Linked DNA regions of Homo sapiens: region 2 is linked to region 1. The links are contacts of gene promoters, found by promoter capture Hi-C in blood cells and fetal thymus (Javierre and others, 2016). All regions are on one chromosome and are shown on one strand. The core of a region is centred on a gene start or on the middle of the fragment in contact, and the rest is flanking DNA. Distances in the headings are between cores, read along the strand shown. Region 1 holds the start of LMAN2 (lectin, mannose binding 2). Region 2 overlaps UIMC1 (ubiquitin interaction motif containing 1).

What was found. Contacts are between HindIII fragments. The CHiCAGO score rates a contact against its expected background, and 5 or more counts as called.
Region 2: a fragment that was not itself captured here is called in contact with the fragment with the promoter of LMAN2 in region 1 in 1 of 17 cell types (monocytes); the score reaches 5.3 in monocytes.

The regions. Positions count from the first base shown.
Region 1 is chr5:177,349,519-177,354,864 of GRCh38, forward strand. It overlaps LMAN2 (lectin, mannose binding 2), which reads right to left and starts at 2,150. Exons shown (of 8, transcript NM_006816.3): 1 at 1,934-2,150; 2 at 1,655-1,773. The coding sequence starts at 2,129. RefSeq lists enhancers at 2,091-2,280, 2,291-2,340 and a silencer at 2,235-2,449. The HindIII fragment of the contact is 10,936 bases long and covers 1-5,346 here.
Region 2 is chr5:176,900,491-176,905,571 of GRCh38, forward strand. UIMC1 (ubiquitin interaction motif containing 1) reads right to left here. Exons shown (of 15, transcript NM_001199298.2): 15 at 4,516-5,002. The coding sequence ends at 4,792. Among named protein-coding and RNA genes, the nearest start is that of HK3, 3.7 kb to the left of the region's middle. RefSeq lists an enhancer at 1-177. The HindIII fragment of the contact is 505 bases long and covers 2,699-3,203 here.

The DNA of each region.
Region 1 (5,346 bases), core at 900-3,399:
CAGACTGAAAATTCGATGAAGGCAAGTGCAGAAGCCTCTCAGTCCTGTGACATCCTCGAGCCACTGATGATGCCAACCATCAGCTATCTACAACCAAAATGTAAGCCACTGTCTTAGATGCGTCTATTACTTGTGGCTACTCCTGATTTCTACAGTTCCAGCACTGTTTGCACCTTGCTTTCAAAAAATAATAATAATGCTATACTGAACTCATTTCCATGAAAAATATAAGGCTGAATTATCATTTCTTTAAAATATCTGAAAGCCCTAAGACAGAATGTGACAGAATGTGACTCGGGGGAGATAGGGTGGTTAATGAAGAAATGTCTGCGTGGGTGGCACTTGAATTGAGACTTAACAGATGAGAAGGAACCAAGCAGGCATGAGGAGCCAGGAGGCAGTGTCCCAGACAGAGGGAACAACAGGTGCAAAGGTCCTGAGGCAAGAAGGCAGCCAGGGGGGGCTGGAACAAAATTAACACAGAGAATGACTGGAGATGCACAAGGGGCCAGATTGTGCAGACATAATGCATGCTTACCCCTTCACAGGGGACTCCACGCTCTGAGGATCAGACTGAAAGCTGAAGAAAGTATCCGCAGATGCCACTAACAGCAGTGTGGAGGCTCGGGGCAGGAAGGAGAGGAGGAGCAGAGGGGACGGGCAGACCAGGCAACACAAGGACAGTGTGGGTTCCCAGAACTAAACAAGAAAGTCAACCAGCAGGGATCAGAGAGCAGGGTGATGGAGAAAACTAGAACACTGGCCAACAGCTTAAGCCATGGGAAGGGCTGAGATTAGGCAAGCTGGGGCAGGAGCAGGTCCCGCTCCAAGCTGTAACCCAGCCCCAAATTATTCTTCTTTCCCCTTTTTCCTCACCTTGACTGCCTCAGTGTGGATTCTGTGTAGCAGCTGTCATTGGCCACTGCTCACATACTACATACTACATACTCTGAGGCAAAGGTCACAGACACTAGAACTGCCCACAGGTCCAGTCCCTCCACACTACTGATGACAAGACCCTCAACCAAGCATTGCAAAAAGGGTTCTAAGGGGTTCCTCCACTGTCCAGGTGAAAAGAGTCAAGTACATCGAGTGAACTGCTGGGCTTAGAGATCAGACAAATCAGAGTTTAAATACTGTTTATGACATTTGCTAGCTGGGTTATCTTTGTATAGTCATGAAAGCCATCTATTTCAAACAGCTTGTTTGAAAATTAAATGCAATAAGGCATGGCAAGGTCAGTGCCTAATACACAGCAAAACACCCAATAAAGATCCAGTTCGCTCGGTTCTTCCCATTACTGAGGGGGTTCAAGGCAGACAGCCTGACAGTTCCACTACTTTCTGGCTATGTAACTTTGGGTAAGGCCCTTTCAAACCTGAGTCTTAGCTTCTCAGTGGGTAAAATGGAGATAACATTACTCATCTCGCATGGCTTTTAAAGTGAGGAGGATGTAAAGTGTCAAGCGCAGCTCCTGACACATAGTAAGTACCCAATACCCATCGCCTCTTATTATTGGTGGGTGTGACCGAGATGAGGAAAAGGCCAGGGACGGAGGTGCAAACCTATAAACGAAGCTGGGGTCTCAGCTGCTCGGGAGGCAGGGACTAGCAGCCAACCGCACAGTACGCCTATCCTCTTGAGAACCACTCACCTGGTGGTTCCAGATAGAGCCCTCTTTGCTGCGCTCGTCAGGGGTCAGACGTACGTACTGGCTCGTGAGCATAGTGCTGCCCTGGAAGTCCCAGAGGGGCATAGAGCTGGAACCGACCCCTGTGGGAAGAGACAGGTGCTAAGAGGCCACGCCAGGACTGGCCTCACCAGAGGCAGGAAACCCACAGAGATGCTCTGCTCAGGAGAAAGGGCACGCCTTCCCCTAGCCCTGTTCAGCCTCGCCCTCACTCTTCACTCATTCCCGCCCCAAGGGCTTCACCTTGGTAGGGCTTAATGAGCGAATGCTCCCGCTTGAGATGTTCACTGTTGCCGTCAGTTATATCCGCAGTCACAGACCCCAACAACAAAAGAAGAAAGAGAGGTGTAGTGGGGCCAGGGCCGGGGCCGAGAAGCCCAGGCCTTCCCAGGCACCGCCGGCCCCAGCCCCAACGCCAAATCCAGCCTTCCGCCGCCATTCTCCTCTCCTCTCGGCCACTTCCGCCCTAGAACTTCCGCCTTCCGGGGGTCCCATCTATTGGCCTCCGGCCGGAAGCTCTTCAACTTTACTGTCGCCAGGGAGTCAAAAAGCAAAGCCTCCGCAGCAGACGGGGCGGCAGCTGCATTGGCCGGGCAGCCTCTCATCCTGGTTGAGTGCAGTTTCATCTCCTTAGAGGCTCCAAGGCACACGCCGGCCAGCCCCAGCAATGGGTTCTTTCGAGCGACAAGAGCTGTAACCAGTCACGGAACAGCACGTTAGGCTTGCGAGCCAATGAGGAGCAGAGGGATGGTTGGAGCCGGCGGGAGCGCGAGGGCCGTCCGCGACTCGGGGCATGCTGGAATTTGTAGTTTTTGTCGGTCGCTCTAATGGGGCGGATTCGCGAAGACTAGGACGTCTTGGGCTTCTGGCCGCAAGTCCCGTCTCTGGAATAACCTTTTCTAGTCCTGGAGAAAGGAGCTCTGAATTGAAGGCGGAGTCCTGCATTCCAACCCTTGTCCTCCCCGGGTGGCCCTGGGCAAGCCTTTAAGCCGTGCCTGCCGTCAGGCGCCCCAGCTTCGCGCCTTTGGAGACTCAGAATTCCCAATTATTTGAGGGCCTCCACTACCCTCAACTCCTCAGGCCTAGTCGGGTTGAAGCAAGAGGAACAGACACAGATCCTGGCCTGGGACCCCAGTGATGACTGGAACTCATCCCTATGCAAAAGAGCGCAGTGCCTGGTACAGCAAGTAACGTCCATGGAAGGCCCAGGAAAGCTGTGAATCAGAGGTCGAAAACTGGTGGCCTGCAGCTGAATAGAGCTCTGTTTTACCTGCCAATATTCTAATAAATGGCTTAACTACCAGTATTTTAAAGTCAGAATATAGAGGCTGGGCGTGGTGGCTCACGCCTGTAATCCCAGCACTTTGGGAGGCTGAGGCCGGCGGATCACGAGATCGGGAGATCGAGACCATCCTGGCTAGCACGGTGAAACCCCGTCTCTACTAAAAAATACAAAAAATTAGCCGGGCGTGGTGGCAGGTGTCTGTAGTCCCAGCTACTCGGGAGGCTGAGCCAGGAGAATGGCTTGAACCCAGGAGGCAGAGCTTGCAGTGAGCCGAAATCGCGTCACTGCACTCCAGCCTGGGCGACAGAGCGAGACTCTGTCACACACACACACACACACACACACACACACACACACACACACAAAGTCGGAATATGTACATTCACATCAGAAATCCAGACTTCCGGCTGAGCTCAGTGGCTGAGGCCTGTAATCCTAGCACTTTGGGAGGCAGAGGCGAGCAGATTACCTGAGCTCAGGAGTTTCAGACCAGCCTGGGCAACACGGTGAAACCCCGTCTCTACTAAAATACAAAAGAAATTAACGGCGTGGTGGCGGACACCTGTAGTCCCAGCTACTCGGGAGGCTGAGGCAGGAGAATTGCTTGAACCCAGGAGGCAGAGGTTGCAGTGAGCAGAGATCACGCCATTGCATTCCAGCCGGGGCGACAGAGCAAGACTCTGTCTCTACAAAAAAAAAAAAAAAGAAGAAGAAGAAGAAGAAAAGAAATCCAGACTTCCGTTTTTTTACCCAAAAAAAAAAAAAAAGAAGCAGCAGCAAAAGATCTAGGCACACATTCCCACAACAGAACAATAGGCTGGAGCTGAATGGGACTGCCCCTCCACCAATGCCTTCCTCTTCTAAGCTGGTCCCCACCTGGTCACTCGTTTACAGCACTTGCCTGGCTCCTCCAGACATTTGAATCAATGACTCCTGTTGTAGATCACAGGGAGGGATGTTGGTTGCTTGCTCCTTTTAGAAACTGCCCTCTTGAATGAATGGACTTATTCAGGATTGAGTGCTGAATCTTTTCTTGGTCATATATTTTTCGTTCGCTTTTTTATTATTAAAGTCACACATTCTGGTCAGGCACGGTGGCTCACACCTGTAATCCCAGTAGTTTGGGAGGCCGAGGTGGGTGGATCACTTGAGGCTAGGAGTTCGAGACCAGCCTGGCCAACATAGCGAAACCCTGTCTCTACAAAAAATTAGCTGGGTGTGGTGGTGCACACTTGTAATCCCAGCTACTCAGGAGGCTGAGGCACGAGCATCACTTGCACCTGGGAGGTGGAGGTTGCAGTGAGCCAAGATCTTGCCACTGCACTCCAGCCTGAGTGACAGAGTGAGACTCTGTCTCAAAAAAGTCACACATTCTTGTGGTGTGTATGGAAACAGAGAGAGAACAGACATACAAGACACAACAAGCCAGGCATGGTGGCTCACACCTGTAATCCCAGCACTTTGGGAGGCCAAGGCAGGTGGATCACTTGAGGTCAGGAGTTCGAGACTACCCTGGCCAACATTGTGAAACCCTGTTTCTACTAAAAATACAAAAAATTAGCCGGCCATGGTGGCGGGTACCTATAATCCCAGCTACTCAGGAGGCTGAGGCAGGAGAATCACTCGAACCCAGGAAGCGGAGGTTGCAGTGAGCCAAAATTGTGCCATTGCACTCCAGCCTGGGCAACAAGAGTGAAACTCCATCTCAAAAAAAGAAAAGAAAAGAAAAGAAAAGACACAACAAAAGTCTTCTGCCACTCCCCTCGCAAGGAGTGTCCCCTTCCAGAGATTTATCTGCACCCATACAAACAAAAACATGCACATTCCATGGGACCTTCATGGGGCTGGGATTTTTGTCAGCTATGGTCACTACTGAATCCCTGGCATCTAGAATAGTGCTTGTCACATAGGAGGTGATTAATAAGTAACTGGTGAAAGAATGAATATTTGTTCTAGAACCTGGAATTGGGTCATGAAGAATGAGTAGGAGTTTTCCGGGAAAGGTAAAGGCATTCTCAGCAGAGAGAAGAGGAGCTGCAATCTAGGGAGGGATGTGTGAGAGCAGATGAAATACAAGTAGTTTGGAATGGCTGAGAAGTTGGAGTTGGGGGCTGCGGGGGAGCTGAAGCCAAAACTCAAAGGGCCTTCAATTCCCAAGTAAGGAACATGGCCTTTTCCCAGAACTCAATGGGATATTTCTAAGCATGGGAGTGACCAATGTGGATTCCTCTAGCTATGGTGAGGAGAAGAGATTGGAGCGGGGATAATAGGGAGACTGGATTCATCATGATCGGGGGAGAGAGGGTGAGGCCTAAGCCAAGGAGGTCTTCACAGAGAAGAAGGATCTGAAGTCCCAGCCAGAGACTAAATC
Region 2 (5,081 bases), core at 1,701-4,200, 450 kb before region 1:
CCTGCCATTTCTTGAGCCAGGGTGAGGATATGCCCCTGACAAGCATGGCCAGGGCTCTTCATCTGCGTTTCTGGAAGGTCTGTGTCCAGACCCCAGGAGCAGGGGTCCTGGTTCCCTAGTCAGAATGCCAGGGAAAGTCTGGGTCAAGGCCAGTGGAGGGAGAAGGATGGCTGAGCTTGAGGTCTGTGAGCAGCTGGGACAGCCTGGCTGTAGCAGAGGCACTGCAGCTGCCAGCGGTTCTCTTCAGACACCAGATGGCCACTGACCAACAAAGGGAAGGACAAGTCCTCACGAGGTTCCCTCATAGCCCCTTAGTGCCAATCTCCAACTGTAGAGATGGAGCTAAGGAATGAGGAAAGGCAGTTTGCTGGGGGAGAGGTGGGCACAACCAGAGCACTGCCGATGGGCTGGGAGGTCAGGCCTTCCCTCTGCGCTTGCTCACAGGCTTCTCACCACTCACAGTGCCCATGCCAGGCACAGAGATCCTCAATAAGCTCCCCCAATTTGTTCCACACCCTTTATACCGTGAATGTGCCTTGCAGCTCTCCTACACACATCGAGCTACTTCTGTTGTGTCTTTGTTTGCACTGACTTGTCTGGAATGACCCTCCCTTTGGCCTCTCCCACCTTTTCACCTCATTTTTCCTCATCCCTTAAATTATAATCATCAACGACAATGAGGAGCCCTTCTCTGAAAAGCTCCTCCTGGCCGACCCCAGCTGAGTGTGGTCTGCTTATTGGTTCCGTATTATGATGCATGTTCTTGTATCACTGCATTTATATCTGTTTATTAAAGGCATCTGTTTATGTGTTCTTCTTCCCCATTGTACTATGGGCTCCCAGAGAATGTTTCTTATTCACCCGTGCAGCCTCAGACCTCAGTTCTTTATCTGGCAAGGAACAAGTATCAATTAATTTTTGTTAAATTGAAGAGCCCTCCCACAATCTCAATAGTCCACGGCTGGCCAAGCATGATGGCTCACGCCTGTAATCCCAACACTTTGGGAAGCCGAGGTGGACGGATCACTTGAGGTCAGGAATTCATGATCAGCCTGGCCAATACAGTGAAACCCCGTCTCTACTAAAAATTAAAAAAATTAGCCGGGCGTGGTGGTGTGCACCTGTAATCCCAGCTACTCGGGAGGCTGAGGCAAGAGAATTGCTCGAACCTGGGAGGCAGGGTAAGTTGCAGTGAGCCGAGATCACGCCACTGTACTCCAGCCTGGGTGACAGAGCAAGACTGTCTCAAAAAAAAAAAAAAAAAAAAAAAAAGTCCAGGGCTTTTGAAACTGAGAGGAAGCAAGCAAGCTCTTACTGTCTTCCTGGTGCATATGGTTTCAGCAGTCTTTCCACTAGTCCATCTTTCCACTGACAACTACAACCCTCTCATCCACTTACTACCTGCCTTCCCCTCCCCAAATTCCCATCTGCTAACAACCTAAGGCCAAAGCTACCCTGATTCACAGGCAAAAATGAGCTCATCCAAACCTGAAATTTCCCTTGAGTCATTAGTTTTGTGACTGAAATGAGAAGTAGGAAGTAGTGTGCTATAGTACAGAAAGCTTCAGCTCTGGGGTCAGGCAGACCTGGTTTCAAAATCCCATCTCATTACCAACTGAAAGACCTTAGACAAATTTCTTATTCCTCTGAGCCTCGGTTTTCCTTGTATAAAACTTGGAGACTGATGTCTTCATAGGATTTGCTTTAGGTTAGGTAAACCCAGAGGCAGACCTAATTTGAATGCAAATAACTTTATTTGGGAAGTGATCCAGGACAGGGCCAGAATCAGGGCAATGCAAATGATATGCCTAGGGTACAGAATGTAAAGAGACCCTCTCAGGTTCATACGGGTGCCAACCTTGCACTTAGATGAACCCAAGAATAAAGGCTCATCACCCTAGTCCCAGTCCTGATCAGGAAAATACAGAAGAGGAGCTGGAAGCCAGGTAGGAAGAGAAAGAAGCCAAGGAAGTGTACGTTAATTGTTACTGGGAGCTTAGAGAGGTTCACTCCCACAGGGAACCCTGAGAAATAGGTAGAATGTGCCTTAGAGTTGTCCCTCACTGAGTGAGGAAGCTGGGGTATCTATCCTCCCACTTCCACTGGCTGAGAGCTGTCCCAGGGGCACTAACTCCCTGGTACTCTCAGCTTGTGCCAACACAAACCAAGAGAAGTCCTCAGGCAGAGTCTCAGGTACTTGCAACAGGACTCTGTGGGTATACAGCAGAATGGCGAATGCCTGGGGGAAATGGGCGAGGCACAACCTCTGCTGGGGCTGCTGTAAGGACTAAATGAAAAAGCACAACTACAGCGCCTAACAAAGAGAAGTCCCCCTCTATCTCTTCCAATTTACGGCAATAGCTTGTGAAGTTTATGGAGCTTCCCAGCTCTCCGTGAGTTGGCAGCATCAGCAGAACAGCTATTTCTCATCTTTCAGAAGTAAAAGAAATCCAGGGGCCCTAGGAGAACTCTAGATGCCTGGGACCCAAGTTTCCTGTGGAAGCCTGATGGTTGATGGAGCCCGAGTAGTCCCTCCTGAGTACACATTCCTCTGAAAACTATCTCCTCTTGCATCTGCACCCGTCCCCCATCCCTCCACCCCTCAGTGCAACATCATTTGTGACACATAGACTAGCATCACATTAATAACTGCTGCCACTAACTCATTCTTCTATGTGATGACATTGTGCTGGATCAAAGCTTTATCCACATTATGGTAATCCTTAGAACCCTGTTAGTATGATCTTTTCCCATTTTATGGACAAGAAAGCCAGGTCTCAGAGAGGTTAACTTTTATCAGAAGCAGGGTGCAGATGTAGGCTGATCTCACACATTTTATACTTTGTCTCTTCACTCTTTCACTAATGCTCCTCTCACAGGATCACAGCATGGGGAGAATAAGACTGTGGGCAAACAAGACGGTTGTGAGGAGGCGATGGGGGAAGTGGGTAGCTGTTCTTCCCTTGACTCCCCATTAGCTAATAATTAAGCCTGTGGTTCCTGGTCTGGCTGATCCATACCCTCCTGCTGCTGACTCATGTTTTAGGGAAACTGCTCAATTTTAAGCTAAATAATTCACTTTCCAGAAGTACCCTTTCCCTTTTCTTATCTTCAGGCAAACAGATACACACACTGTCCCCTGTTTATACAGCGCTACCTCCAATAAATTGCCATTTAATGAAAGAGAAAACAAGCGAGAGTTAAGCTTATGGGACATAACTGATAAACTACTTTTCACTAGAAGAAAAACAGGAAAATAATCAATACTGGAGTCAAAATATAGCATTTTCTTCAGGAATGAAGAGTAGGGGCACTGTGGTTCCACTGCCATGGACAAAAAGTGGCTTATTTGTTACTCTAAGCCTTTGCTTCCTCATCTGGAAATTGAGATGATAATACCTATACCCCATAGGGTTGCTATGAGGATTAAATGAAGGCCACATACATTGCCTGGACCGTAGTAGTTGCTCAAAAAATAACAGCTATTTCTTATGTGCTGCTAGCCACTAGGTCAGTGCCATCCAACAGCAAGACATTATCTATGGAAGGAAAAGACAGTGAGACTGCCATCTTGCCTTCTTCTAACTCAAAAGGTTGTGTGCAAAGGGACCTAGGCAGGAACAAGGCCTTAATGTTTGTGCTGTCTTCCATCCCAGCTATCTGCTAACTCCCCAGTCTAACACATACCTCGTTTTCATGTTAAAAGAAAAGATAACTTTGGACAAAATCAGAAGTTAGGAGAGTCTTGAGTGTGCCTGTTTATCCTGTCCCAAGATCCTTTCCTGGTCAACAGCCACCTCCCCCAGTTTTTCATTACAACTTCAAATCAGTTTTGGCCAAAACTAGCATTCTTCACATCCTTGTTTGGTCATCTCCTTCAGGTAGCTCCTTCTGCCAATTGACATCCTCTCATCTTCAGAGTCTGCACATGGCATGCACCGAGAACAGACCACATCTCTGTTCTGCACTGGAAGCTCCTAGGCAACACGGTGAGGAATGTGCGCTATGTTAGTAATGTTACCAAAACAGAAGCCATGTCCTGTTGCTGCTAACCTTTGGCATCAAGAGACCCAATCTTGATTTGAACAGATGAATATGCCTGGCATCCCCACTGGTTAATCTATTTAGAAAAAATAATTGCATAGGCATCTAATAACAGAGTGTTCACTTGCACATTCCTGGGAAGAATGGCAGGACACATCCTTCAAATGTTCTATGCTCAGGCTGAGAATTCCACTGTGTGAGTACAAGATGAAGGGACAGGTCACTGAATGGTAGGGATAGCAGAATAGGTAGTGGGAGTCAATGCCCCTGGCACCTCCCAGAATTATGTCAGAAACAGTCAAGGGAGTAACCAATGTTCGGAATTGTGCAGTACACATTAAGTGAATATATACATGGTATGTCAAGGATCAGTAATGGCATTCATTCAGCATGTGATTTATGAGTCTAATAAACTACCTCTACAATGAAAGTATCCCCACCCCAAACCCTGCAACATGAAGGAAAAAAAAATTAAAATTTCCATCTATTGAAATAAGATTTCGTACAAACATAAATATATTTAAATTTTTTAACTGTAAGTAAATTCAAACAAACTGTTATAAAACAGAATACACAGTTGTCTGCATAGATCATAAAAAACATAAAAACCAGAATGCTGGGTAGGTGCTGGTGGTGAAAACTGCAGGGCTAAAACTTGCTCAACAATGAACTAGGGACCACTATGGCTTAATGAACATGGCCCACCCCTCCTACTAATGGTTTTGTCAACTTTTGGACCCTAGAAATTCAGAATTTTCTCCTTCTTCCTCTGCCAGCTTTGGTCCGTGTCCGACTACCTGGCTGGACAGTAACTTGCTTTTTAAAGTCCACTAAGCAATCTGTGGCTTCTGAAATGGAAACAAAAGACTTGACGGGAGATTCATTTAAGTCACGACGTGTGAAAGAACTCTGCATCTCTCTGCTGCAGCCTGCCTCTTCCATCCCTGGTGAAGGCACCCTAGAGAGAAGGAAAAAAATTCAGATTCAATATACACCTACTAAGCATCAAGGACATGCTATGCACTGTATCAGGGGAT